Linked DNA regions of Homo sapiens: regions 1, 3 and 4 are each linked to region 2. Evidence: promoter capture Hi-C in 16 types of primary human blood cells and fetal thymus (Javierre and others, 2016). All regions are on one chromosome and are shown on one strand. The core of a region is centred on a gene start or on the middle of the fragment in contact, and the rest is flanking DNA. Distances in the headings are between cores, read along the strand shown.

Region 1 (6,942 bases), core at 1,974-4,473, 530 kb after region 2:
CTAAGTAACTTAGCAAGACCATTCAACTAGTAAGTGGCAGAATTGGGATTTGAACTTCAGTCTCTTTGGCTCCAAAGCTCAATCTTTCTAATCACTTCTCATGTGCCTAGGTTTAAGTCAGTGTTATTTTATTGTATTCCTTTCACTTAATTGCTTCTCTATACTGAGATACCACAAAACAGATTTGTACAGCCTCCATTTTTACCCAAATCAGTGGAGCCTGTCAAGTTAATTGGTTGTGACACACAGCTTCCAGAACATGTAATTATCAGCTGCATTGAGTGGGAAGTTCAGATGACAGTGAATAGTACATGTAGACAGAAATCTGTGTGTTGCTACAACTGAAGAACAAGCCAAAAATGTAACATTAATCAAATGCCAATGTAGTAGTATACCAGAAAATAGTTCTATGTGGAAATGAAAGCCGGAGAAATCTACAAACATTCATATTTGTAATCCACAATTAGTCTCTGTGCATCATATTCTCCTTTTTAACACCCAGATATGGAGAACCAGTATATTCTACTGGATATAAATGGAAGAATGGTCCCTTCTTTCATTCTACAATAACCACAGTTTCATCCTCTTATGCCTATAGCAGCTGACAGATGAGTGTGACTGATTACTCAGCCAAGTCAACTTTCAAATATGAGAAGCAAAAGCTCTTTCAGGAGGCTCAGGCAGCTCCAAGAGCTCCTGTACCATCTGTAGTGGAAGGAGTTTTGTAGCTAGACAACCAAGGTTTGTGTCCTGGCTTTGTCACTTACAAGCTATGTGATTTTGGACAAATGACTTCACCTGAGTCTGTATCCTTATTGGCAAAAACTTGTAAAGTAGCTCAATACTTTTAAATATTGGCTGATTATTTGAATACCCTGGATAGCTTTTTTAAAAATACCATTAAAGTGGCCTTACCTGCCCTGGGCCAATTAAACCAATTTGTTTGTAGTTGGAGAGAAGAGTCATGGATCTTGGCATTTTTAGGAAGCTTAATTCATTTAAAAAAGTGGGCTAGAACTACTGCCTTATGGATGGTTGTGTGATTCCTAAACTGGAAAAAAGGACCTTATAAAAACATCTGTTTGATTCTCTCCTTTATAATACAGAAAGTGATATCCAGGGAGGTAAAGTGATCCACCCAATGTTCAATGGCCAGTTATGTAGCAGAACCAGCACTAGACCAAATGTTTCTTAACCTCTAGCCTTGCACTCATTAGAAAGACATTGAATCTTCAAACTAGAAACACCAAAGACTCTTTCCTCTCTTTGGAAGAAATAGTATTCCCTCTTAATTTCAAAAATGCCTAGTTTATATGTTAAATTGTTACCTTGCATAGAAAAATGCATCACAAGCAAACAAATGAAACAAACCAACCAGGTGTGTGTGTGTGTGTGTGTGTGTGTGTGTGTGTGTGTGTGTGTGTTTGGGGGTGGAGGTGCTTGCAGTGATAAATAGGACCCAGGTCATTCTGAAGAAAAATGGTGTATTAGTCTGCTCAGACTGCCATAATAAAACACCATAGACTGTGTGGCTTAAACAACAGAAATGTTTCTTACAGTTCTGGAGGCTGCGAAGTCCAAGATCAAAGTGCTGGCAAGGTGGGCTTTATTCTGAGCCCTCTTCTCTTGGTTTGTAGGTGGCTGCCCTTTCACTGTGTGCTCAGATGTCATGTGACTTCTTTATGTATGTGTATGAAGGGAAGGGAAAGGAGACAGAAAAAGGAAGGAGGGGGACTGAAAGAGAAGAAAGGGGAGAGGGAGATAAAAGTGGAAGGGGAGGAGAGAGAGGGAGGGAAAAAAGGAGAATGGGCCAGGTGTGGTGGCTCACACCTGTAATTCCAGCACTTTGGGAGGCTGAGGCAGGTGGATCATTTAAGGTCAGGAGTTCAAGACCAGCCTGGCCAACACGGTGAAACCCTGTAGGTACTAAAAATAAAAAACTTAGCTGGGTGGTAGTGGCGTGCACCTGTAATCCCAGATACTTGGAAGGCTGAAGCAGGTGAATCATTTGAACCTGGGAGGTGGAGGTTGCAGTGAGCCGAGATCACACCACTGCACTCTAGTCTGAGAGAGAGAGTGAGACCCTGTCTCCAAAAAGAAAAAAAAGAGAATGCTAGGTCTCTGAAATTTCTCCTTATAAGGCCAATTATCTCAACATGAAGATCCTACCCCGCTGACCTCATGTAATCCTAATAACTTAAGGCCTCATCTTGAAATACTATCACATTGGGGGTTAAGAATTCAACATATATATTTGGGGTGACACAGTATTCCATTCTTAAAATATGACATTTGAATCTCCTTATAAGAGTGCCTAGACCAAAAATAAGTTCTCTTATTATTATGAGTCTTATTATGGTCCATGGGCTACTATAAAAAATCCTACATTAGTGGTTTTCAATCCTGGATATAAATTAGAATAACCCGGGAGCTTTTTACATAATACTGATTCCCTACACCTCTTCTCCCAAAAACTGGATCAGAATCTTTGGGGATGGCAACCAGGCATCAGGGTTGAGAACCACAGCAGCTGGGCCCTGAAGCGCAGGGAGGTTGTCAGGTTACCTAGTGCCAAGTAGGAGGTAAGACTCATGTGCCATAAATGTCTGAATATAAGCTGAGGACTTTCTCTGAAATTATTTTTCATAAAAGAATAACCCATTTATTGCATTATGTTCAAGTTCTTACAATGTTTCTCATGCTATGGGCACTCTCTCATTTACTATGTGTGTACCACACCGTTTTTAACAACTATCTTAATGCTATGCAAATTGAGTAACTTGGGATTGCTTCATATTTAGACATATAGGATGACACTATCACTTAACTTCTTTTCCTTCCATCATACTCTGAAACTCCCATATTAATAGGTCATGGACTGGTCCATGGACTTTTAAAATCTTGGGCAAGTTACTTCCCCTCCTTAGGATTCAGGGTTTTTCTGCATTTAATAAATTGAAAGCCTTGGACAAGACTGAATAACATTGTATAAAGCCCCTGAATTACAGTGCCTCTAACTCTACCTCTTCACCTATTTTGCATACACAGTTTGGGCAAACCACTTACATCACTTTATTTTCTCTTTAAGTTTGCTGTCATTTGGTGTGTAGTAGGTTGTATTTGGTTCAGAATATTTGCTGCCACTCTGTGGAGCAATTATACTTTCTTACTCCACTGGACTCAGAAGTACATATTTGACTTGGTTTAGCCAATGAAATGTGGGCAGAAGTGATTTGAATCATTTTTGAGCAGAGACTTCTAACAGCCAGTTTGTGTTTTTGCCATTTCTTTCTTCTTTGCCATGAAATCACTGACATCTCATAGAAAAGATGACATATGGTTTATCGTCTAAACTAGGAATGTTTAAAACAAGAGATTACACTACTGAGTGAAAATATATGCTATTTATTAATAATTGCTCTGGAACAATAGGCATAAACTAGGACAGTGTTGGATAAACTGAGATGTATAGTCACCCTTCAGAGACAGAGACTTTTTAGCCAGCGTAGGTCCCAAGGTAGAGACAATGTGGAGCAGAACCAGAATCAATCACAATGGACACACATGAGAGAGCAGTAACTCTTTGTAAGCCACTAAGATTGTGGGGACCATTGTTACTACAGCATAACTTAGCCAACTAATAACAGAAACTTAAGCAACACAGCTGACTGATGCAGAAAGCTCATTGAAAAGTGGCCTTATGTCAATACAACAAAGTGGGTCATTCAAGTGACTGCTGATACTGAAGATATGTTCAGAGGTATCTGGAGTTGCTGTGGCTTCTTTCAGTTTAAAAATAAGGAAAGTTACCCCAGTTATCATAATGGGCCTTGTGATTCTGTCCCGGACAGGCCTAATCTCCAAGTGCTGGCCTCACCCAAAATATTCTTCCAAGGGATTTCTTTTGTAAATATCAACGTTGATTCATTTGACCATTCTACTCTGGCCAAAGATGATAGAACCAGGGTGGAGCCCTAACTAAGTGTGAGCAATCTGTAGGCTGGCCAGCAACCTACTTGGTAGCCTTGTATCAATGCTCTGATTTACACAACAGTGGTGTGTTCTGATACTCTCTCTTGAAAATATCTGATCCAGGGATATGAGACAACATACTGGTTTGCAGGATTTGAAAATCACACAGAAAAAGGGCATGGGATATAACTGAGTCATGCTAACAGTGGATAGTAGAGTATGAGTTAACGAGCTTGGGCCACTGAAGATACAAACAGTTTACGTGGTTATAAGAGATGTTGCCAAGCAAAATGTGTGTTCCCCAGATTACATTCTGGTCTTGGCGAAGCCAGCCTGACGGTGGTTCCTGCATTCACATGAAATTTGACTTGTATTGTTCCTGGCTGTCCCTAACACTGACAGCACAGACAAGATTCTTACCTCCAGCACCACTGTTCTTCCATTCCAAGAAAATTTTCCAGCATCGGGCAGGAAGGACAACCAAAGGCAATTAACAAAAAATTGGTAACTGGCAAGAGTAAAACCATACATGAAAAGTTAAAATGCCTCTCTATTTTAAGTGTGGAGCTTCTAGGTCCAACTCAGCAAGACCTTTGCACTATTTGACTTGCCTTAAATGAAACTGCTTTGCATTGGAATGGACTTTTAATTTGTCTGGATATAATGATAGTTTTTTTTTTTTTTTTTTTTTTTTTTTTTTTTTTTTTTGAAGAGGTTAGCTTGGATCTTCTCATAAAAAAAGCATTTCCTCTTACTTCATGTGGCTTATTTCACAACCAGAGAGTGTCCTTTGTATTTTGTTTCTGAGCCAATATTCTTTTTTCTTATGTCTTTAAAACTGTTGCTTAGAATTACTGGGGCTAGTTCCTCCCAGCCTCAGTTAGGAAAGATATATGTATATGATAAAACTTCACTAGCATCTGAATTAACTCATTCAATACACAGAGAAAGACTTAGGTCACTGGTTAGCTTTTGTTTTCTGTCAAGGTTTATAGTATCTTAGAGTAAGATCTGTTGTCACAGATCATTAAGTCTAAAAGTGCTGACGGGTAAAATTACACCTTTAGAGCCTTGTGGCTAGTGAGTGCCATGGATGGAGCAATATCCCAGGTATATGGAATCTCAGTTCAATGTTCTTTCTCCAGATCAGATTCTCATTCTCCTTTGCAGCTTTTACGTTTGTATATTGCAGCTTATCCCCTCAAATGCAATACTTTGGGTTGGATTTCTAAAAACTCCATTCATTTATTCATTTTGTATCTTCTTTCTAATATCTTTTCTAATCCCCACAACAGCTGTATATGCCAGGTATAGTGCTGAGCGCTGGGAATACACAGAAAAAGATGAGGCAACTTTTACTCTTGAGAAGTGGCAGCAATCAGAAATCAGCAATTTGATTTATTAGTAATAGATATCACAATTTAATATCTTAAGTGCTGTGGGAACTCAGTAGAAATTAACCAGTTGGGCTGCAGGGAATGGGGAAAAAAGCTTTCTCATAGGAAGTTACATTTAACAGCATTTTGAAGGATGTGTAGGAGATTGTCAGATGGGTAGGGTTGGGAGGAGAATAATAACAACAAAAAACCCCAGCTTGCACAAAGAATCACGAAATGAATGGAGATAATGTCACAGCAGCAGAAGTATAGGGTGTGAAAAGAGATGTGAGGCACTTGGAAAGGTAGGTCTAGAGAGTGACAGGCCTTATTGGCCATTTAAGAAGTTTGGATTTTCTTTTAAAGGTAGTGGAGATGAGAGGAGAGAGGAGAGAAGGAAACAGAGGGACTAGGTGAGAAGATGCCACACGCAACTGAATGGCTAAAAATCCAGATTGCAAGAACTACCTGCAGTAGGAAGGTTTTGAGACAGTGGGCTAAACTCAGAATCTGTCTTGAAACAGTGACTTTATGGGTTGAAGGGAAGTAAAGAACCATAGTTGACTCTGAGGTTACCAATTTGTAAAATTGGGTGGGTAATGACGGCAAATTGTGAAGAGGGTAATAAAAGGAACAGAAAGGTTTTGGGCAAAAATGATTGCATATTAAGATGTGTCACCAATAAGGTGATGCTTAAGTGGTAACTATAATTATTTAGCTATGAATTATTGAGAAGGATCAGGATGAGATCCAGAAGGAAGGAAGCAGGAATGTAGCTGCTTTCTCCTTTTAAATTTAGTATGCATTCGAAATTTAAAAGGAAACAAAATACTTGAGTGTTCTTCCAAATGGTTTAGGCAAGGTCACATAAGGAGGAACGAGGAAAGGAATTTAGAGCAGTTTTGTGCAGCGGATGAGGGTTTGAGAAACTTTAATTTAAACACTGTTAATCTGTAAGTTAATCACCTCTCTGAAATACATCCCAGGACTATTGTGAGGGTTAAGAGACATCTCAAAGGAATATATGTCGGACAACATAGGTTATGCTCCACTGTGGTTAAAAAACAAAAGCATGGCCCAGTGCAGTGGCTCACAGGTGTAATCTCAGCACTTCGGGAGGCCAAGATGGGAGGATTGCTTGAGGCCAGGAGTTCAAGACCAGCATGGGCAACAGAGCAAGACCTGGTCTCTACAAAAAATAAGAAAATTAGCTTGGCGTGGTGTCATATGCCTGTAGTCCTAGCTGCTCGGGAGGCTGAGGCTGGAGGACTGCTTGAGCCCAGGAGTTTGAGGTTACAGTGAGCTATGATCATGCCACTGCACTCCAGCCTGGGTGACAGAGATCAGACACTATCTCTAAAACATAAAATAGGACAGGTGCAGTGGCTCACACCTGTAATCCCAGCACTTTGGGAAGCCAAGGCAGATGGATCACTGAGTTCAGGAGTTTGAGACCAGCCTGACCAACATGGTGAAACCCTATCTCTACTAAAAATACAAAAATTAGCTAGGTGTGGTGGCAGGCATCTGTAATCCCAGCTACTTGGGAGGTTGAGGCAGGAAAATTACTTGAACCCAGGAAGCAGAGGTTACA
Region 2 (7,538 bases), core at 4,568-7,067:
CAAGAAGGCTGTGTTGTTGCCTTATAGAGATAATATGTGTGTTAGATAAGCTTGTTATTATACTGCTGTTGGTCACAAGTTCAGTGTTAAGATATCTTTAAACAGAAACACACATAAAACAAGGTTATGTATTGATTGGTTGATGAAAATGCTGTGACCAGAGGTTCAGAGGAACCTAACTCCGTATTTCCCCCCAGAAGCAATGGTTCGGTATTCACTAATCCAGTGTTCACAGGATAACTACAGGGAACAAGAACAGGCTACTCACAAAACATCTGTTTGAAAGTGTCATTCTACAAATGATTTCTGGCAAGCATCTATTATGGGCCAGACATTGTACTGGGTGCTTGAAAAACAAAGATTAAAAAGACAAAACCTCAGATTCATATTCTATACTCACAGATTTCAGAGTATGGGTTTATTTTGATATCTTATTGAAATTTTCATTAGGTAGAGAAAAAAGGTTAGAGCAGCAAGTATAAGAAATTACAGAAAATCCTTGCTCTTGCTCAAATCAAATCATTTGGAATACTCTTCCTCTTAGCTCCATAGATCCAAAAATCTGACTTAGCTTCAATGCCAGAGCCCTGACTAAAAGTATTTTCTTCATTTTCACAACTGGAATTCATAAATGCCAGTATTCACTTAACAAACATTTCTTACATTCCAACTATGTGTGAAGCACTACTACAGGTACTGGGGATACAGCTGTGTACAAAACCGGCAAAATTTTATGTGCTCTTGGAACTTAGTCTAGTGAAAGAAGGTAGATAATAAACAGATACTTACATAACATTTCAGGTGATACATGAACACTATTTTTTTTAAAGCAAGGTAAAGGTATATAGAGTGAAAGGGTGAGCAGAGGAATCAGGCGAGGCCTCTCTCAGAATATAAATGCCTGAGCAGAAATCTGAAAGACATGAAGAAATAAGCTATGCAGATATCTGGTAAAGAATATCTAGGCAGAGGGAACAGTGTGTGAAAAGGGCCTAAGGGCTGGGCATGGTGGCTCACGCCTGTAAGCACTTTGGGAGGCCAAGGTGGGTGGATCACCTGCGGTCAGGAGTTCCAGACCAGCCTGGCAACATGGTGAAACCCTGTCTCTACTAAAAATACAAACTTAGTCAGGTGTGGTGGCATATGCCTGTAATCCCGGCTTCTCGGGAGGCTAAAGCAGGAGAAATGCTTGAACCCAGGAGGCGGAGGTTGCAGTGAGCCAAGATTGGGCCACTGCACTCTAGCCTGGGCAACAAAGTGAGACTCTCTCTCTCTCAAAAAAAAAAAAAAGGCATAAGGCAAAAATGTGCTCGGCAGGCAAGTTAATGGAACAGTATAGGTCTGAGTGGATTGACAGAAACAATTAATAGTAAAAAAATAAATAAAATAATAATAAATAAATAAATAAAGGAAAGAAAGTCAGAAAGGTAACAGGGACCATATTATTTAGGTTCTTGTAGGACACACAGAAATTTCATTTGGAAAAGATAACTGTAGTTGATCTACGGAGAAAGAATTACGTGGAGGCAATGGCAGAAGAAAACAGATCACAGTGAGGCAGTTTTTGGAATAAAACAGGATGGAGTACAGCAGCTTAAAATCAGAGTAGAGGGAGAGATGATGAGACGTGCCAGAGTTCAGATATACTTTTTTCTAATATATTTTTAAATATGTGTGTGTGTGTGTGTGAGTGTATATATATATGTACTTTTTTTATTTTTTTGGTTGAACAAAGAGGAGTCACAGATAAGGCAAAGCCTTCAAACCAGAGCAACAAAAAGAACAGTGATGCTATTAATTGAGACAGGGAAAACTGGGAAGGAACAGGTTGGTTTGGGTGAAGTAGATAAGAAGCAAGACATCTCCAAATGGACTTATTCATTGGAGATGTCTACTAGACAACAGATGAATTTGCTTAATAGAAATGTGTATATGTGAGTCTAGAATACAGGGAAGCAGTCAAAACTGGAGATTTAAATTTGGGAGGCATTAGCATATAGATGATTTTTAGATACATGAGACAAAATGCAATCATCTAAGGCATGAGAAGAGGTTCAAGGACTGGGCCCTGACGCACTTCCAATTTTTGGTGAGAAGAGCATTTGAGAGTTTAGAAGGCTGAGGATAGCCAAGGGTACTAAGAAAGGGAGAAGAAACAGGGAAACAAGTGAATCCAGGGAAACAAGTGAAGAATGTGTTTCAAGAAGAAAGTTCTCCAGATGAAAATTAGCCTGGACTCCTCAAAAGGTTAATGAGAAGAAAATAAAAGAAGGATTATTCTAGATTAAGAGATTAAAGGAACATAACAACTAAAGACAATACATAAACCTAGGTTGCATCCTGGTTCAAAAAAATAATAGCTGTAAGAAACATACTTGGGAAAACCAAAGAAATTTAAAAATGCACTGAACATGAGACCATCTAAATAAAGTACTGTTTCTTTTCTTACGTGTGTCAATGGCATTCTGGTTACATAGAGAGTATCTTTATTTTTAGGAGATGCATGCTGAAGTACTTTGGGGGAATTATAATGGCATCTGCAGCTTATTTTCAAATGGTTGAATAAAAAATATATGATAAAATGTTAACTGTATTTAGGTGGAGAGTATAAAGAAATTCATTGTACTATTCTTTGACCTTTTCTGATAGTTTGAAACCTTTTGTAATAAAAGTAAGAAAAAAGCAAAGGACAAACAACTCAGTGAAGAATTGACAAAAGACATGCACAGACATTTCACAGGACAGGAAGCTGTAAAGGCCAATAAGTGGTAAGATACTCAGCCAGCCATATTTGTCATCGAGAAAATGCAAATTGAAATCACAAAGCAAGCATTTTATTTCTACCAGAATAGTCAAAACTAAAAAGAACGAACATATCAAGTGTTATTGAAGATGAGGAGTAATGGAAACTCTTGCATGCTACTGGCATGATAAAGACTCAATAGTTGCTATGCACCTTAAAACCCAGTAATTCCTGTCTTTTGGGCATACCTTGGAAAAATTCTTCCATGTGTGCTAAGAAAATGGCACAAGAATATTGATAGCAACATTAATGTAATATAACATAATGCCAAAAAAATTGGAAACAAACCAATGCTGAGTATATTCATTTCACCATTATAATTGTTATGGTTAATTTTCTTTAAAATATCACATATTTTTATATATACATATTTGTATGTTTAATATATTGCACAATAAAAGCTAAATAAAAATGTGATCAATTGCAGCAAATGCTGTTGACAAGTCAACCAGTATGAGGACTAAAAACTGACATCTGGATCTGGCCATGAAGTGCTGGGGTAAATGAAGTCTATCAAAAACTATCTGTAAGCAGAAATCTTCTAGAACGAAAACAACTTTTTAATTTTATTTTGGAAAAAGGATACAGAAAAGCAAGTCTATTAGTCTTATTAGTGAAAATAAGCTTCCCATACCTAGCTAGCACCATATATTTTTCTAGGGGAAAAGATTTTTTAGAAGAGAGGGCAAAATTATTTCCCTTAAAAACTCTTTATATGGATGTCATCACGTGAAAAGACATATATAAAAGTGAAAGTTTAAGTCATGGGGCAAATCAGGTTATTTCTGAGTGTGAAAAGAAGGGCTACTAATAATTTCGCTGGGCAGTGGCATAAAATAGGCTTGTTCCGGGTAAACTGATCCATACGGTTTTCCAGTGAATAAGCCAAATTCAGTTTTGGGCGCTAGTATGGTTTCAGCAAGAATGGAATACAGGATCCTCAGGAAAAATAAAAAGGGCCCTTAAACTCAGCCCTGTTAAACTTCATCAAGATTCTATTCTGGCATGAAAACTACAGTGGTTAATGACAGGTCTAAAATAATACTTACTCAGTGCATGGTACACAGGTTTATGTAATCCCTGAAGTCTTATAGATGCCATAGCAGCAAGTTTGCCAGGTGGCTGCATTTTCCCATCTAAGAGATACCATATTCTAGCAAAAGTGGCCCATTGCTTGGGGGGGAAAAAAAAAAAAAAGAAGAGGAAAAAATAAAGATAATTATCATTAAAATGGAAATACAGTAATTAAATTTATTATCATATATCATCACGTTTCTACAATTAATGTCAACAATTTCTTTGAAAAATAACTCTATTGCTAAAGAATTTTTGTTTTCATTTCTATTTCTGGAAAAGGGTTGTTTTTTCTAATCATTCTGCAAAGACAAACACAGTAATTATTCCTTCCTGGTTTCCTGTTAGCAATATGACTTACGTTTTGTTATAAATATCCCAAAGATATATTTCCCTTTACGGTATGACTTTTTTTTTTTTTTTTGTATAACACATAATAGAATCTGGAGGGGCAATGAGAAGCTTGTAAGAAAGTAGAAGCTGTTTATGAAGGTCTTCAAAAACATTTAGAGATTATTAGGTACATTATATTGAAAGCTGAGTGGCCAACTGGAAACTGAAGACGATTCAGGAGTTCAATTCCTGGGGAGAGTTAAATAGAACAATGTAGTTGGGAAAGTACAGATGGGTGATGTGGAATAAATTTCAACTTTAAAAAGTTGCCTGAAATAGGTATCTTTAGGTTGCCTCAGGAATAGAGCATTGTTTTTACAGTCGTCATCAATGTATTCAAATTCTTAGAAAATTCTAGGCCAGAAAGATCTCCACCAGATGCTTTCTCTATGCATATACACAAGAGGCTAAACAATGCTGGAAAAATAGAACGAGGCTAGCTGGTCTTATTTTAAATTTACTTATCACAACCTCAAACTAGTCTACATATAAGAAAAAGGCCAGTTTTTGTCCCCATCCATTGTAGACTAATAGTTTGATACTTAGAAAAAAAAAATTTTTAATGAAAAAAATACAAATGCTGGGCGATGTCAGATTGCTGAAAAAGGTTTTAAAATTTTTATTTTACTTCCTGTATTTATCTCATCACAGACAGGCAACAAACAGCCCAAGGAAGGAACCATACTTGGAGCGGCACTGAGTTGAGAGTCATCTTAGACCGATATAACCCAAACTAACTCCTATTCTTCCACCTGAAACCTGGTTCAATCTCAGCCTTCCCTATCTCAGTTGATGACACACCCTCCAGTTGGACAAACCAAAAAACCTTGGGGTAATCCTTGTTTCTTCTTTTGCTGTTGGCCTATACTCAATATTCAGGAAGTCCTACTGGCTCCACCTTCAAACAAAACCTGACCACTTTCAACACACTCCATAGTATTTCTAGCGTGGCCTCTGCACCATCACGTCTCGCCTGGATTACTGTAACACCCTCCAAACATATTCTTTGCTTCTGTCCTCTACTAACCCCTATTTCTGAACAGTCTATTCTCGACCCAGCAGCCAGAGTGCTCCTTTTGACACCAGGTCAGATCCTGTTACTCCGTGGATCAAAACCCTCCAAAAGGTCCCCATTTTACTCAGTCAAAAAACAAATTATTGCAAGGGCCTACAATGCCCTATGTGATCCACCTTATTACCTCTCCGATCTGCTCTAATCCTCTTCCCCCCGCCCCCCCAAGAAAGACATGAAAAGGGCAGATTGAAAAGAAGAGGGGACGAGTAACAGACGAACGACATTAAGTGCTTGCCAGACTGACGACCCTCTTGTGCTTTCCCAAGTCACCTCTTGGCCGAGGGTCTCGGCTTCCCTGCCGCCCCAGCTTCACTACTTAATCTGCCGGAACCAACGCTCTCCTTCTGCCAGTATAATGAACCCCATCAAGCCATAAGAGTCCGAGCTCACCTGGGGCGCCCTAGAGAAACTCGACATATTCCTCTACTAGCAGGACCGTACGTCCTTCTCCTAGTAGCCACGCCGGGTCACTCAGCCTTACTGGCCCGGCGGGAAACGCTAACACCCAAGCAGGACAGTTCCTAGCCCGTCGAGCACTTGTCGGCTTCTCCCTCTTCCTCGAGTTTCCTCCAGTCTTCTCCACGGCAGCAATTTCGTCATGAAAGGAGCATATAATGCAGTTATTTAGGGAATAACTCCCAAAAATATCTCGCTTGGTGGAAAAACTGCGGAAAACCGACGGAGGACATAATTTCCAGCCGACCTAAACGAAGGGAACCGGAAATGCGTCATAGCGCGCGTCTGTTTGGATGTGGAAGCCGAGACCTAAAGTTGGGGGGTGATCTCTGAGGAGATGGATCGGTACCTGCTGCTGGTGATCTGGGGGGAAGGAAAATTCCCGTCGGCGGCCAGTAGGGAGGCAGAACATGGGCCAGAGGTGTCGTCGGGTGAGGGTACTGAGAATCAGCCGGGTAAGCGCTGGGATGAGAAAGAGCGGGAACGGCTTGTGGAGAGGGGAAGAAGTTTGAGTTTTGTGATCAAGTTCTGCTGAAGAGGGATCAATATGTAGTTGTCCCACGAAGCTGGGACTCTATCTGGGATAGAGTTAATGAGGGCTGCAAAAATAGCATCTTCATGGAAAAACAGGGACAAATTTGTGGATGCAAGATTCCAGCCCTTAGAAGTTCTTGGCATAGTAAATGTTTAACTTAATAAATTTTCTATGCCTTAGTAATGGAATTTCCTGCTTTTTGGAAATATATGCATTTATTATTTCTGCTCCTGTGTTTCACATGCAAATAATACGGAAAGGAGCAAGATGGACAAAGATCTTGCTGTCCTACAATTTACATCTAATGGGAGGAGACATCCCACATATAACCTAAGTTTTAAAAACAAATGATGAATTTTAAATGATTTTAATTGTTTGCGATTGCACTGCTTTTTGGTGCACCCGTCTAGATTCAATATTGCATTTTATGTGTTCATTTGTTTCGATCAAACAGGCATTTTGAGGAGTAAATGTATGTGGTTGTGTATAAGGTATTGTCACAGAATTTCCCTTCTCTTTAAAATTATTCTTTTGAGGGGAATTTTGCATTCGTGCTAACTGACTGGCATGTACAGATCGGGAGCCTTTTCTATTTTCTCTGATTGCTTTAGATTTTCTGTATCAAAACTTGAACAGATCTTGAGCAGCGTTTAGTACTTTTATGTACAACCTACTGGTCTTGAGAGTCTCTGATGGTGAAATTGGACTAAGTTAGATTATGTAAATCTAGAGCCCTTTGAGTTAGTCTATCTTTTCTTTTTCAGACTTCACAGCAGCAAATGTTTATCACCTCTTGAAAAGAAGCATTAGTGCTTCAATTAATCCAGAAGATAGTACTTTCCCTGGTAAGTATAATAAACTCCTCTTTTCTCTGGCACAGCATTTGTACTGGAAATTAACTTAATTAATTTGGACCCTAAGGAGTACAAGGAAATACTTCTTGACTGTGTACAAGGCACTGAGTTACAGAGATAACTAAGGGAGTACAAAACTGAAAAATAAATTACCCCTTTCTTCTAGATGCTTGAATATAGTAAAGTTATGAAAATTATTCTAGGTTCTCAGCTTGAATTTTGCTCCTTTTATGAAATTTTCTTGCCTATCTTAGTTCTGTATAACTAAGGGGAGTGTGGCTTTATGAGGATGATTTTATCATGAGTAAAAATATGTAAAGCTCCCACACGGATTTCCTTACCATTTAT
Region 3 (6,874 bases), core at 3,972-6,471, 810 kb before region 2:
AGCAAAACTAAAGACAACTTTGTTAGAGTTAGCCTTACACTCATAATGCCAAGATGTATCTCAAAAGAAGTACTGTACTTAAGATCAAGTTATTGACAGCTTCAAATTAGGGTATACTCCTGGGGCTGGGTGGATTAGGATATACCTATGTCAAAATTCATTCTCGGATGATTTGAATTCAGCTGAGAATGACAGGAAAGAAAAAGGGAAGGTAGTTTGAGCCATATAGAACCTCTTATAAACCAATAACCCAAATAAATTTGAGCTGCTATCTCTTTTTTTTTTTCTTTTTTTTCTTTTCTGAGACGGAGTTTTGCTCTTGTCACCCAGGCTGGAGTGTAATGGTGCGATCTCGGCTCACTGCAACCCCCGCCTCCTGGGTTCAAGTGATTCTCCTGCCTCAGCCTCCCGAGTAGCTGGAATAACAGGCACCCGCCACTATGCCCGGCTAATTTTTTGTATTTTTGGTAGAGACGGGGTTTCACCATGTTGGTCAGGCTGGTCTTGAACTCCTGACCTCGTGATCCGCCTGCCTTGGCCTCCCAAAGTGCTGGGATTACAGGTGTGAGCCACTGCGCCCAGCCATGCTGCTATCTTTTTTTTTTTTTTTTTTTTTTTTTTTTTTGAGACGGAGTCTTGCTCTGTCACCCAGGCTGGAGTGCAGTGGCGCAATCTTGGCTCACTACAAGCTCTGTCTTCTGGGTTCACACCATTCTCCTGCCTCAGCCTCCTGAGTAGCTGGGACTACAGGTGCCCACCACCATGCCCGGCTAATTTTTTGTATTTTTAGTACAGACCGGGTTTCACCGTGTTAGCCAGGATGGTCTCGATCTCCTGACATTGTGATCCGCCCACCTTGGCCTTCCAAAGTGCTGGGATTACAGGCGTGAGCCACCACGCCCAGTCTATCTCTTTTAAATAAAATACAGTGAGTGTATGATGACACTCAGTAATGCCACACACTCCTGTGTGCAATGGAAAAGACCATCTTGATGAGTGTACAAAAAAAATAAACAAAATGATTAAATTAACAAATAAATAAAATAGAACAATAGAGTGGAATATTCACTCTGCCTTTCCAGGGTCTATTCCGTCCCAGCCATCTTCTTTCACGACAAGCTCTAGTCCCAACTGTTTTCCTAGGAGTTCTGCAATCCACCTTCATATTCTTTTTTTAATCATTTTTTATGGATGAATAATAGAGGTACATAGTTTTGGGGTGATAATACATTCATGTAGTTGATAAAAATCAAGTCAGTATACTTGGAGTCTTCACGTTCCCTGTCCTTCTCCCTACACCCAGCCTAAGATGTTTAAAATCAAGAAAAATCAAGAAGCAGAAGGAGAACGATGTTAAATGTCATTTCCAGGCTCGCCCAAGCCATTTATCTGAACATTCTGCTCATCCCTCAGTCCTTTGTTCCTGCATGCATTTGAAGTTTTTAGGACTTCTCTCTTTATTGTACCTGACGTAATGTCAAATAGGGAAAGATTATCCGATTTGTTAGAAGTCTGAGTTTTAAAATCTGTTGTCTTCCTTTACTTGACCTAAATCAAGAGAACATTGATGTAAGCACTTCAGATGTGTAACTTATTGAGAGGCGGGATGAAAACTGAAACATCAACAAACTTGTGGTATCCCAAATTTTTCATCATTACTGAGATGGCCGTAACAGCGCAGAAAACAACTAAAACAAACAAAAAGTACTCTCCAAATGTATCAAGGCAGAAATATGTGATAAGTATGATGGAGGCTTGAAATTTCTTATGAGGCATTTGCTAATACCTTTATGAGATTCAAATTCTATTGCCGCCTTTTAAAATACATATTCAAATGATGTTATTTTACTTCAAAGATGCAAGTCAGTTCCAGAATCTTGAAAAACAAATGTTCATAGCTTTATATAGTGTTCTTTTAAAAAATAGAAACCTCAAATTTTAAAATACACATAGGTACATATATGACATGTATAACAACAATGCAATGCATTTCTTATTTTTCACAGAAGCATAATTTCATGATTTAAAGAAACACCAATGTAAAACATACGTTATTTCATTCAAATTCATAATTCTGACAGAAACAGGTACAATTACTTTTACTTAAGTCAACTTTATGTCTAAAATATTCCATCTTACAATATGTATAGAGAGGTAGGGTTGTAGAATTCTAGTGCCGGCCGGGCACGGTGGCTCACGCCTGTAATCCCAAGACTTTGGGAGGCCAAGGTGGGCCGATCACCTGAGGTTGGGAGTTCAAGACCAGCCTGACAAACATGGAGAAAACCCATCTTTACTAAAAATACAAAATTAGCCAGGCATGGGGGTGCACACCTGTAATCTCAGCTAGGGCTGAGGCAAGAGAATTGCTTGAGGTGGAGGTTGCAGTGAGCCGAGATCATGCCATTGCACTCCAGCCTGGGCAACAAGAGCGAAACTCCATCTCAAAAAACAACAACAACAAAAGAATTCTAGTGCCATCTGTTCCATAAGATACAACAAAACTATTGATGATTTAAATTTTTGGAAGGAGCCTAACCGATGACAAAAGTTATGGCCAAAACATTACTTGATCTAAGGCTCCCAATCATATTTCCCTCTAAATGTCCCCCGTAAAGATGCAAATACTCAAATCTGGATGATGGCCAATAGAAGAGGCAGTATTTAAGTTTGGAAACATTTAGCTTAGCCTAAAGGGGGAAGGTTCTTCTAAGCTTTGTCTGCTCCTGTTTATGATACTGCTCTCTATCTGTTCCTCCCATTCTCCTTGGTTCTTAGCCCAGGTATTTCCTGAAAGTGAGAGCAAAACCTTAAAATGTGTTACCAGCTGTGGTTATACCAGCTCCTTTTCTCAAGAGCGTTAAAACAGGACAAGTTCCCTTATGTCTGCTGCCCTGTTTGAAGCATAACCCACAGGGCAAGGCAGAGGACAGTGTGCGTGGCATTCAAGATGCTGCCCAGCTCTAGAGTTAATACTGTATTATGCCTCTTCTGGAGTATATGGTTCGTTCTTTCTGGTCATACTTTTTTCGTATTGAATTTGCCATTTTTTATTGATGCTTCTGACCTCATTTTTTAGTAAATAGAACTTACACACAGGTCTACATGTCAGTATCTTTGCTTCCTAAATACATAACTTTTTATAAATATCCATTACTGCAACATCACTGTTCTCTCCTCTTCACAGCTGCTAGGCCAGATTTCATAAACTTTTTTTTTTTTAATAAAGAGGTCCACCTGGGAAGTTTTTAAACACCTGTGCTTTCAAAACATTTATAAACACAATGGTCTGACCTGCCTCGGTGACTCATGCCTGTAATCCTAGCAATTTGGGAGGCTGAGGCGAGTGGATCACCTGAGGTCAGGAGTTCGAGAGCAGCCTGGCTAACATGGTGAAACCTCATCTCTACTAAAAATACAAAAATTAGCCTGGCGCGGTGGTGGGCGCCTGTAATCTCAGCTACTCGGGAGGCTGAGGCAGGAGAATCACTTGAACCTGGGAGGTGGAGGTTGCAGTTAGCTGAGATCACGCCACTGCACTCCAGTCTGGGTGACAGAATGAGACTCTCTCTCAAAAAATAAATACATACATACATACATACATACATACATACATACATACACACAATGTCCTCATATAGAGCTCACAAACTAGAAGGAAAAAAAAAGATTTCTACGTAATTGAAGTTAAAAGTTAAAAACTTTACTTCAACATCTAAACCACTTAAATAGAATTTAATGGCCATCAGTAGCATAAATCTGAATGATTTGCACATCTGCTACCAAACAATAAAATGTTGTCATTTAAAATTAAAGGTATTGTTAACTCAATAAGGTATAAGTTTAAACACTGGCCTTCAAACCTAATTGAAGATTAATTAAATGAATTATCATATACTTAACACCTTATAGTTCTCATCAGCCTTAAAGGCATTTTCAAAAACTTTTTCAGATAAATAAAAGCGACTTTATCCCCATTTTCCTGGTTGGAAAATTAGATCTCTAGGCCTTGTATGAGTTAGCCAAGGCCTGGATAAAATTTTAGATCATCTCACTGTAACTACAGTATTTTTTTCATTAATGAAAGGTTTTTCAAACTTTTGTACATAGTTTTCAAATTTTAGAAGTTCTTTTCAAAATATAATTTTGGGGAAGATTTGCTGATTTTATTGATTCAAAAATCTAGGCTGAAGTTCATGGAAGACTGAGATTTCTGAGTATGTAAACTAGATAGAGGAGTCTCTACAGTTTTCAGATAGATGAAAAATCACTACACTACAGCCCCATTTAACAAAGAACTGAAAAATCTGTACCCTCCTTAGCTTCCAGTTCAGATAATTTCATTCCATTGACTCAAACTCCCCAATTTCTACCTGAAATTTCACATAAAGCCCCATGACAGGATAATCCTAATGACCGAGTTTTGCTCACAGAGCAAATGGCTGATCTACGTCCCCTTTACAGTTTCCTGCATTCTCCCATGCCAACATTTAAATAGCTTTTCATTGCAGAGCAAAATTTCTAAAATTATCAAATGAACATAAACCTTCTCACTTCTAGTTCCATTTTCTGATTTCCCTATGATTCTCAAAGAAAAGCTTTATCCATAAAGTTGTTAGTGACAGTCTACATTTCATATGAACCTATGAATTTCATTCACATACTTTTCAACTTTCCTTTCAAGCCACTAAAAACAATGATGAATTAAACTGAGCTTTTAAGTCTCTGTTAGCCAGCTATTCACAAGCTCACAAATTTCCTTTTGTCTTTTAAGAATTAAATTACTTACATATCAAAGAGGATATTCTATTTCCACCTGGAGACAGTTTCTAAATCACAAGTTTCAATAAAATAGACTCCTGCATAACACCACAAACATACACACTGCAAGTGCACATGAGTGCACAGACACCTGTAGACATATAAAGTCTCTTGCAGTCTTAAAGGCAAATCAAGTGGGCCACATCAGACATATGAGAAAAAGATGTCAAACTAAATCACAGTTATGGCTTATATTTTCTTAGAAAATTTATTCCACCCATCTCACCGTCTCATTAACCTGAATGCCCATTGTATTTACCCAACAGAATTATAAGTAGCTTTTCTCATTTCATATCTCCTAATAAATCTATAAATCTTTTATGACCTGGTATAAAAAATCCTGTTCAGCCATTATTTCCTACGCTAACAATAAATCCAGGTAACAAGTGTGTTAGTTAATTAATTATGACAGTCTGTTTGCACTGCCACAACCTTGAAACTAACACCCCAGTCCATAGTACAGCAGCGAGGGCATCCATGTGTACAGAACATTCTCAGCTATTGTTGAGGACTCTGAGAAGCTATGGTTACTAAACAACTGCATGCTTTTGAATGGTGGATCTCACTCTGATCAATCCGAAGCTAGCCATATATCAATACCCTTTGTGTTCCTTCTATTTGTTGCACCCTTGGAGCACTGAGCTTCCCAGGATTTCTTTGGCGCCTAAAAATGTTGTTGGAAATAGGCATGGCTGCCTCCTCCCCACCTAGTGTCTTATTCTTACAGGCTTATAAAATTCACCCAGTATTTTCTGATGGGAAGGCTTTTCTAATGGTCAGAATAACCAGTCACATGTGTCAATCGAGAGAGATCCTTTCTAAGCATATGCAGCATTTAAACGCATAAAGATATTTCCACTGTCTACAGGATGCTTTTACCTAGTTTACTAAGTACATCCTTGATTTTTATTCAGGAGAAATCAACCACAGTTCCTAAAAAGCACATAAGCTACATCAAAAGAAAAATTATTCAGGCATATCCAAACCATAAAATTCAGAGTTAGGTTGCATTGTATTCTAAGACTAAGCTTCACGTGGTTAGAAGTTTAATAAATTATTTTAGATGATATCATAAAGGCCTAAAATAACCAACGACTTAATTAAATAATTCAAGGAGCAAATTCGTGTAGCCCACTTAAGACCATTTAGGTTTATAAATTATAATATAGACCATACTACTTTTCTAGAAGTGGCATTTATTCATTAGTTCATATAGCTATTCTTATAACATGGAAATAATTTACTATACACAAAATATTTTCAAAGACTAATAAATCCAATCTATACTTTTCAAGTTTTCCAGTAGTGAGCACAGAAATTCAAGAGGCAATGAAACAGAATAATTCCTGGGATTTTTTTTTTTTAATCCAGAAAGAAAAGTAGAAATCATCTAAGTCTGCTCCTCATTGTACAGCTAAGGAAACAGACTTCACAAGTGACTTGCCCAACACCACACAGCAAGTTACAGGACTCCAGGGTACCAGCCTAGGATTTTAATGACTGTTTTCCAAAAGAAGTCACCTTTAAAAATAATGAGTGACTCAATTTTACATTCATTAAGGAAACAGCATTTAATTCTTTCAATCTCAGTTTTAGCCAGAGTAATATATTAAGAGGAAACAGAAAAAAAAAGTTCCCTTTAGTGTTCATTGAAAAGAACCAGCAGTTGGCTCTCAAGTTGCTAGCTTTCCCACATGACCATGCTAAGGATCTGATTCCCCTGTCTGTTCAGTCACAGTCAGTGTTAATGGGAGTGAAAAAGAGGCCTTTGAAGAGAGCATTTGCTGCAAATAAAAACAGCATTCTCTAGCTCAGTGATCCACTGTCCTCTGCCTCCCCAACAGAAGACGACTCATTTTGTCCATTTGGCTCCCTGGGGCTGCAAGTTTTGTGATCTATTTTCTCACTCTTAACCCCGCCACACCCCACTTCAATTCACTAATTCACTTCTAATATTATTCTTTCAACCTACTGGCATGATTCAAAAGTAACTTAATTGATGTAAGGAAGATTTAGTATTCCATCAATGTATGTGTCCTAACCCGGTTGATAA
Region 4 (7,515 bases), core at 4,863-7,362, 640 kb before region 2:
AAGGTTTCATGCAGGAGTGTGAAGCTGTGGTAATCTTTTTGAGTTCAACAGAAGTTTGATAGGAAACTTTTGGTACAGGAAAAGAGAACGTCCCAGGGTCAAAGATGGGAAGAAAAAAGGTATGATCAGAGAAATATAAGTAAACTATTTTGAATATAACATCTATTACGGTCAAATTATAGAAGATCTTGAAAGCCATGCTAAAGAGTTCTAATTACTGCAGAATTATAAAGGCAAGGGAAATTTTTATCATAAAAATTATTCTTCTAATAGCATTTAAAAAGAACAGATTAGAGGCTACCATAAGAGTGGAGAAAAGCATCTATGTATTACTAATAATCAGGGCCCAAATTTGTATCATGATTAACACTCTGTTTGTATTAATCATATTTAATCATAATTTTATTTGTGTATGCAAATAAAAAATACTATTCACCAAAAAAAGGACTAATTTTTAGACAAATCCTACAAGACAGCAAATTTACTGATAATGCAGACAAGTCATGTATTTGACACAGAGAAGACTAAGTCAGGAAAAACAATTCTTGACTATCATTTGCCTTGTTCCTATTCAATAGCTCAGAGTAGAAAAAAAATTCTTCTTAAATACAAAATCGGTACTAATCAAACATTGATTTTTTAAAATTTTTTTATATTATCATTTTTTATTATACTTTAAGTTCTACGGTACATGCGTACAATGTGCAGGTTAAATATGTATACATGTGCCATGTTGGTGTGCTGCACCCATCAACTCATCATTTATATTAGGTATATCTCCTAATGCTATCCCTCCCCCATCCCCCCACCCCACGACAGGCCCCGGTGTGTGATGTTCCCCTTCCTGTGTCCAAGTGTTCTCATTGTTCAGTTCCCACCTATGAGTGAGAACATGTGGTGTTTGGTTTTTTGTCCTTGCGAGTTTGCTGAGAATAATGGTTTCCAGCTTCATCCATGTCCCTGCAAAGGACATGAACTCATCCTTTTTTATGGCTGCATAGTATTCCATGATGCATATGTGCCACATTTTCTTAATCCAGCCTATCACTGATGGACTGGGTTGGTTCCAAGTCTTTGCTATTGTGAATAGTGCTGCAATAAACACACATGTGCATCTGTCTTTATAGCAGCATGATTTATAATCCTTTGGGTATATACCCAGTAATGGGATGGCTGGGTCAAATGGTATTTCTAGTTCTAGATCCTTGAGGAATTGCCACACTGTCTTCCACGATGGTTGAACTAGTTTACAGTCCCACCAACAGTGTAAAAGTGTTCCTATTTCTCCACATCCTCTCCAGCACCTGTTGTTTCCTGACTTTTTACTGATCGCCATTCTAACTGGTGTGAGATGGTATCTCATTGTGGTTTTGATTTGCATTTCTCTGATGGCCAGTGATGATGAGCATTTTTTCATGTGTCTGTTGGCTGCATAAATGTCTTCTTTTGAGAAGTGTCTGTTCATATCCTTCGCCCATTTTTTGATGGGGTTGTTTTTTTCTTGTAAATTTGACTTCTTTGTAGATTCTGCATATTAGCCCTTTGTCAGATGAGTAGATTGCAAAAATTTTTCCAATTCTGTAGGTTGCCTGTTCACTCTGATGGTAGTTTCTTTTGCTGTGCAGAAACTCTTTAGTTTAATTAGATCCCATTTGTCAATTTTGGCTTTTGTTGCCATTGCTTTTGGTGTTTTAGATAAGAAGTCCTTGCCCATGCCTATGTCCCGAATGGTATTGCCTAGGTTTTCTTCTAGGGTTTTTATAGTTTTAGGTCTAACATTTAAGTCTTTAATCCATCTTGAATTAACTTTTGTATAAGGTGTAAGGAAGGGATCCAGTTTCAGCTTTCTACATATGGCTAGCCAGTTTTCCCAGCACCATTTATTAAATAGGGAATCCTTTCCCCATTTCTTGTTTTTATCAGGTTTGTCAAAGATCAGATGGTTGTAGATGTGTGGTATTATTTCTGAGGCCTCTGTTCTGTTCCATTGGTCTATATCTCTGTTTTGGTACCAGTACCATGCTGTTTTGGTTACTGTAGCCTTGTAGTATAGTTTGAAGTCAGGTAGCATGTTTAAAGCTGATCATTTACCAAAGACAATAAAGTTCACTGCTAATCTTATCAGTGGATAAACCTTTAAAAAGAGTCATTGTTAAGACAACGTAAGCAAAACCAACACAAAATATCCTGAATCTTTTCCACGAGTGATTTTACAAATCCTGTGAATTTCAGCAAGGCAAATATAAAAGGCAAACTGAGGAGCTCACCGAAAGCCTGCTGCCCTCAATTTTTATTCACATGACTAAAAGAAATGCTGTGGAGATATACGTGGTCAAATTATATGCTTATGTATTTCTTTTTTAAAAAATAAACCTAAATTGAAGACGAAAAAAGAGAGTTAACAACTAATAAATCATTTTCTAATCAGCAGAAGTCTCATGCTTGGGGAGGCCTAAAACTGTGATTTGGCCTGTCAATTGATAAATGAATTGTGATAAGATATGTGCTGGGAAGAAACTAGAAGTCTTCATGAGTTTGCTAACCAGGTTTCTAACTCTGTCTGTTTTCCTCTGTATAGGTTGAAGAGAGAATAAATCTTGCTCTTTAATTTTGAATTTACAATATTTTAGATTCCAGAGATGGGACCACAACATTCAAAAACATGATAAATGAAAAGATGTCATTAGTAATGAACAAAATTAGTTACAGAAATCTACCTATATGCTAAATCAAGATATAACTGAAGCTCTTTTGAAATGCTAAGACTCTGTTGGAAAATAATCTGAAATTTAAATACAACATTTTGAAAGAAATTCATTCAAGAATTCACATCATTATATATATTAGATAAGGAAACATTTTCTCTCTAGTCATATTCTTGATAGTTGAAAAAAGAGTGAAGGAAGACAATATTTCATTAATATCTACCTTTTTTTTTTTTTTTTGAGATGTCGCTCTGTCATCAAGGCTGGAGTGCAGTGGCACAATCTCAGCTCACTGCAAGCTCTGCCTCCTGGGTTCAAGCCATTCTCCTGCCTCAGCCTCCCGAGTAGCTGGGACTACAGGCGCCCACCACCACGCCTGGCTAATTTTTTGTATTTTTAGTAATGACAGGGTTTTACTGTGTTAGCCAGGATGGTCTCGATCTCCTGACCCTGTGATCCGCCCACCTTGGCCTCCCAAAGTGCTGGGATTACAGGCATGAGCCACCGTGCCTTGCCAATATCTATCTTTTTAAAAGCAGTAAAGGGCCAGGAGGAGAGTAAGAGAGGAAAGCTCTGACTTACCTCATGCATGTATGGATCTACCAGTATTTCAAATGGTCCAATGGCCAAGGAGATATTTGACGCTGCTGTAGGAATGGTAAGCATATAATGGAAAGTTTTCTTCCTCATATCATGAGTATACACTGTCTCCACCAAATCGCCATTAGAAACAGCAACCATTGCAGCATCTACTGTAAATTCTAATTTCCATGTACACAATTCAGAGTATGAATCAACACAAGGGAACCAAAATCTAGAAAAAAGATTGACAGTATAGAAAATGTATTCAAAGAGTTCTCTACATTGTTTTCCCCACATGCAAGTTATTTTAGCATTTCTAGAAAATGAACAAACAAAACCTTTAGCTATTTGGCTACTGAAGCTTTTTACTGTACAACCTGAAAAAAATCTGATAAAATAAAATCTGTTTCCAAATACTATTTGGCAATATTAAGAAAATATATTATGTGGTACCATCAGTTCAAACCCTAAAAAGAGTTAAGCAATTCTTAGCTTTCAGTGTTTTAAAAAATAATTTTAACTTGTATCCGCATATTAGTCAGTTTTTATGCAGCATTCATTTCTAGAAACTAAAAAAGGCTCACAGCAAAAAGTTTTATAAAGCATAACTAACATTCAGAATTTATTCCATTAAATTATAAAACTGCTTTTTTGGAGTATGTAACGTATTGTATAAATTCAAACTGAGTGCTGGTTAAGTTAGATATAAAATTTATAGTCAGCTTTCATCAGTTCAGTAAGGTGTTACGTGACAGGGTAGGTACTTAGTATTGAAGCACAAAAGTGTGTAAGACATTATCCCTGGTTTAGAGAAGTTATTATAATAATCTGAGGACAGGCTGGGCGCAGTGGCTGACACCTGTAATCCCAGCACTATGGGAGGCTGAGGCAGGTGGATTACCTGAGGTCAGGAGTTGGAAACCAGCCTGGCCAACATGGTGAAACCCTGTCTCTACTAATAATACAAAAATTGGCCAGGCATGTGGCATCTGCCTGTAATCCCAGCTACTCCAGAGGCTGAGGCAGGAGGATCACTTGAACCTGGAAGGTGGAGGTTGCATGAGCCGAGATTGCATGAGCCGAGATTGCGCCACTGCACTCCAGCTGGTGCAACAGGCTATCTCTACTAAAGATATGACGAAACCTGATCTCTACTAAAAATAAAATAATTAGCCAGGTGTGGTGGCACATGCCTGTAGTCCCAGCTACTTAGGAGGATAGGTAGGAGAATCACTGGAACCCAGGAGGTGGGGATTGCAGTGAGCCAAGATTATGCCACTGCACTCCAGCCTGGACAACAGAGTGAGACTCTGTTTCAAAAAAAATAAATAAATAAGCAGAGTTGAGTAGTAGAATGTGGAGTGGGGAAGTAGAGTATGAAAGCAGGTGAGAGGAGGTCTCTATAATCTTGTAATATTCTTTGTCTCTAGATGTAAATTATGTAGGCTTGTTCACTTGTGAAAATTCATCGAGCTTTACATTCTGTGCAATTTTCTGTATGTATGTTTTACTTCAATATAAAGTTTTTAAAAAAGAAGGAATCAAGTGAGATGATTATTTTAGAACAGTAGACATGAAAATGAGAGAGAAGAAGGGAGATGTAAGATTGAGGAGGGGTCGGGCATGGTGGCTCATGCCTGTAATCCCAGTACTTTGGGAGGCTGAGGCAGGCAGATCACTTGAGGTCAGGAATTAAAGGCCATTCTGGCCAACATGGTAAAACCCCATCTGTACTAAAAATATAAAAAATTAGGCAGGTGTAGTGGTGAATGCCTGTAATACCAGCTACTTGGGAGGCTGAGGCATGAGAATCACTTGAACCCAGGAGGCACAGGTTGCAGTGAGCAGAGATAGCACCCCAGTGTATTCCAACAAGGGTGACAGAGCAAGACTGTCTGAAAAAAAAAAAAGAAAAAAAAATTTTTTTTTAAGAGGAATGACTAACAGAAAGTAATTTGAAAGAAGTCTAAATTTGGAAGGGAATAAAACTAGTATTTCTTGTTTTACACCAAATGTATGTCTTGCTTATACATAAAAAATGCAATTTAAAAATTAATTGAAATATTTAAGAATCTATAATCTACCTTGTAGAATTTTGATACCCACAAGAGAAAACATGAGCACCTCTCTCTGCCATACTTCCCTCTACACTGGGTACCACAAAATGAAGACCTCCTTTGGGCTGATCCAAAGAAAAATTGATGTGTATCTTCAGGACCTTTAACTCTGCAACAAATAAACATATACACACATTGATACATAAGTTACAGTGGTCTATATAATAAAGACAAAGATTTAATGCTGAACATGAAATGGAATTGAGGACTGAGATTTATATGAAAAACCACACTACTTACCCTAGTTTAGACTTTTACCATATGTCTGCCTATATTAACTCAACAGGCTGCCCCTATTGGTTTTCTACCTCCAATCAATTATAACTATTGCTTGTATTATTTTCCCAAAATACACCTTTGGTTACGCCATATCCTCCTCTCAACATTTCTGACAATGTACAATGCCTAAAAAGTCCAAAACTCCCACACTGCACACTTAGGCCTTCCAAATCCAACCCCAAACTTACTGATATAGTTTGGCTCTGTGTCCCCACCCAAATCTCATCTTGCAGCGCCCATAACTCCCATGTGGTATGGGAGGGACCTGGTAGGAGGTAACTGAATCACAGGGGCAAGTCTTTCCCTTGCTGTTCTTGTGATAGTGAATAAGTGTCACAAGATCTGATGGTTTTCAAAATGGGAGTTGCCCTGCACAAGCTCTCTCTCTCTCTTTTTGCTGGCAGCCATCTGCATAAGACATGACTTGCTCTTCCTTGCCTTCTGCCAAGATTGTGAGGTCTCCCCAGCCATGTCAAACTATAAGTTCATTAAACCTCTTTTTCTTCCTAGTCTCAGGTATGTCTTTATCAGCAGCATGAAAACGGACTAATACACTTACTTTTCAAGTTCTTTCTCTTATTATATTATCCCACAAACTTAACCCTGGGTGACTTTGGGGAGTACAAGGATGAGAGGTAGAGTAGGGAACACCACCGGAGAATTTGCATTATTATCACGTTTTTTGTTATGCTTGATTTCTTCACTATAAACTGTGTTGCTTTCATAAGATTTTAATTTCCCTCCAAGAATTACAATCATATGCACTATCTCCAAACCCTAAAAATGCAATGACGACTTCCACGTCTGTCCCCTAAATTAGGGTAAGTTCCTCCACAAACCCTACCCCGTCCCCAGCACCCACAACGGAAACCAATAAACAAAACAAGGACTCTTTTACTTCCTTGATTAATTTTTATAAGGCTAAATAAGCAAGGCAGAAGCTAATATACAATATTACAATGGCTAAAACTTTATACAAGACACAAAGAAGGTTTAAAAAGTCTGCAGACTGAGTATCAGGAACCATGTGTTTTAGCTTTAACTTCACCAATAATTTGCTAAGTGAAGTTCAGCAGGTCACTCACTCTCATTAGACTTCAGATTACTCTTCTGTAAAAAGAAGGAATTTAACCAGATTTTTTCAGGATCTTTCCTGCTACAAAATGCTACAATTCTAAACTAATTTGATATTGTGCAGGTTCTACCTATATGATTTTTTAAAAATATTTTTCATGGCCAGGCGCAGTGGCTCACGCCTGTAATCCCAGCACTTTGGGAGGCCAAGGAGGGTGGATCACCTGAGGTCAGGAGTTCGAGAGCAGCCTGGCCAACATGATGAAACCCTGTCTCTACTAAAAATACAAAAATCAGCCAGGCGTGGTGGCAGGAGACTGGAATCCTAGCTACTCGGTGGCTGCGGCAGAAGAATTCCTTGAACTCGGGAGGCAGAGGTTGCAGTGAGCCAAGATTGCGCCATTGCACTCCACCCTGGGCAACAAGAGCGAAACTCCGTCTCAAAAAAAACAAAAAAAAATTTTTTTTTTAGCTTTAAAAAACAACGGTGAAATAAATTGCTTTTTTCACAGCCCTGAAATGGTATCATCCTGTTAGCCAGTGATCCTTAATAAGAAAAAGAGCTTCCAACCCATTCTATATATTTCAACTGGTTAATTTACAATTTTGACATCGTTAATGTTCTTTCGTTTTGTTTTTGTTTTTCTTTTTTTTTTTTTAAGACGGAGTCTCACTCTGTTGCACAGGTTGGAGTGCAGGGGTGCGATCTCAGCTCACTGCAATCTCCACCTCCTGGGTTCAAGCAATTCTCCTGCCTC

Evidence for each region. The method cuts DNA at HindIII sites, captures the fragments that hold promoters and counts their contacts. A CHiCAGO score of 5 or more calls a contact.
Region 1: a contact is called between a fragment that was not itself captured here and the fragment with the promoter of MRPL13 in region 2, in 4 of 17 cell types (total B cells, naive CD4 T cells, total CD4 T cells and 1 more). The highest score is 5.6, in total B cells.
Region 3: a fragment that was not itself captured here is called in contact with the fragment with the promoter of MRPL13 in region 2 in 2 of 17 cell types (fetal thymus and naive CD4 T cells); the score reaches 6.2 in fetal thymus.
Region 4: a contact is called between a fragment that was not itself captured here and the fragment with the promoter of MRPL13 in region 2, in 1 of 17 cell types (total CD4 T cells). The highest score is 5.3, in total CD4 T cells.

What each region holds. Positions count from the first base shown.
Region 1 is chr8:120,972,504-120,979,445 of GRCh38, forward strand. No RefSeq gene overlaps it. Among named protein-coding and RNA genes, the nearest start is that of SNTB1, 160 kb to the left of the region's middle. The HindIII fragment of the contact is 4,475 bases long and covers 987-5,461 here.
Region 2 is chr8:120,439,333-120,446,870 of GRCh38, forward strand. MRPL13 (mitochondrial ribosomal protein L13) reads right to left here and starts at 5,818. Exons shown (of 7, transcript NM_014078.6): 1 at 5,736-5,818; 2 at 3,853-3,976. The coding sequence starts at 5,762. It overlaps MTBP (MDM2 binding protein), which reads left to right and starts at 6,087. Exons shown (of 22, transcript NM_022045.5): 1 at 6,087-6,256; 2 at 7,101-7,181. The coding sequence starts at 6,139. RefSeq lists an enhancer at 5,546-5,725. The HindIII fragment of the contact is 4,989 bases long and covers 4,338-7,538 here.
Region 3 is chr8:119,630,610-119,637,483 of GRCh38, forward strand. All of the region lies in intron 2 of ENPP2 (ectonucleotide pyrophosphatase/phosphodiesterase 2), which reads right to left. Among named protein-coding and RNA genes, the nearest start is that of ENPP2, 4.8 kb to the right of the region's middle. The HindIII fragment of the contact is 1,251 bases long and covers 4,597-5,847 here.
Region 4 is chr8:119,798,507-119,806,021 of GRCh38, forward strand. It overlaps TAF2 (TATA-box binding protein associated factor 2), which reads right to left. Exons shown (of 26, transcript NM_003184.4): 5 at 5,372-5,513; 6 at 3,288-3,519. Among named protein-coding and RNA genes, the nearest start is that of TAF2, 31 kb to the right of the region's middle. The HindIII fragment of the contact is 4,933 bases long and covers 3,647-7,515 here.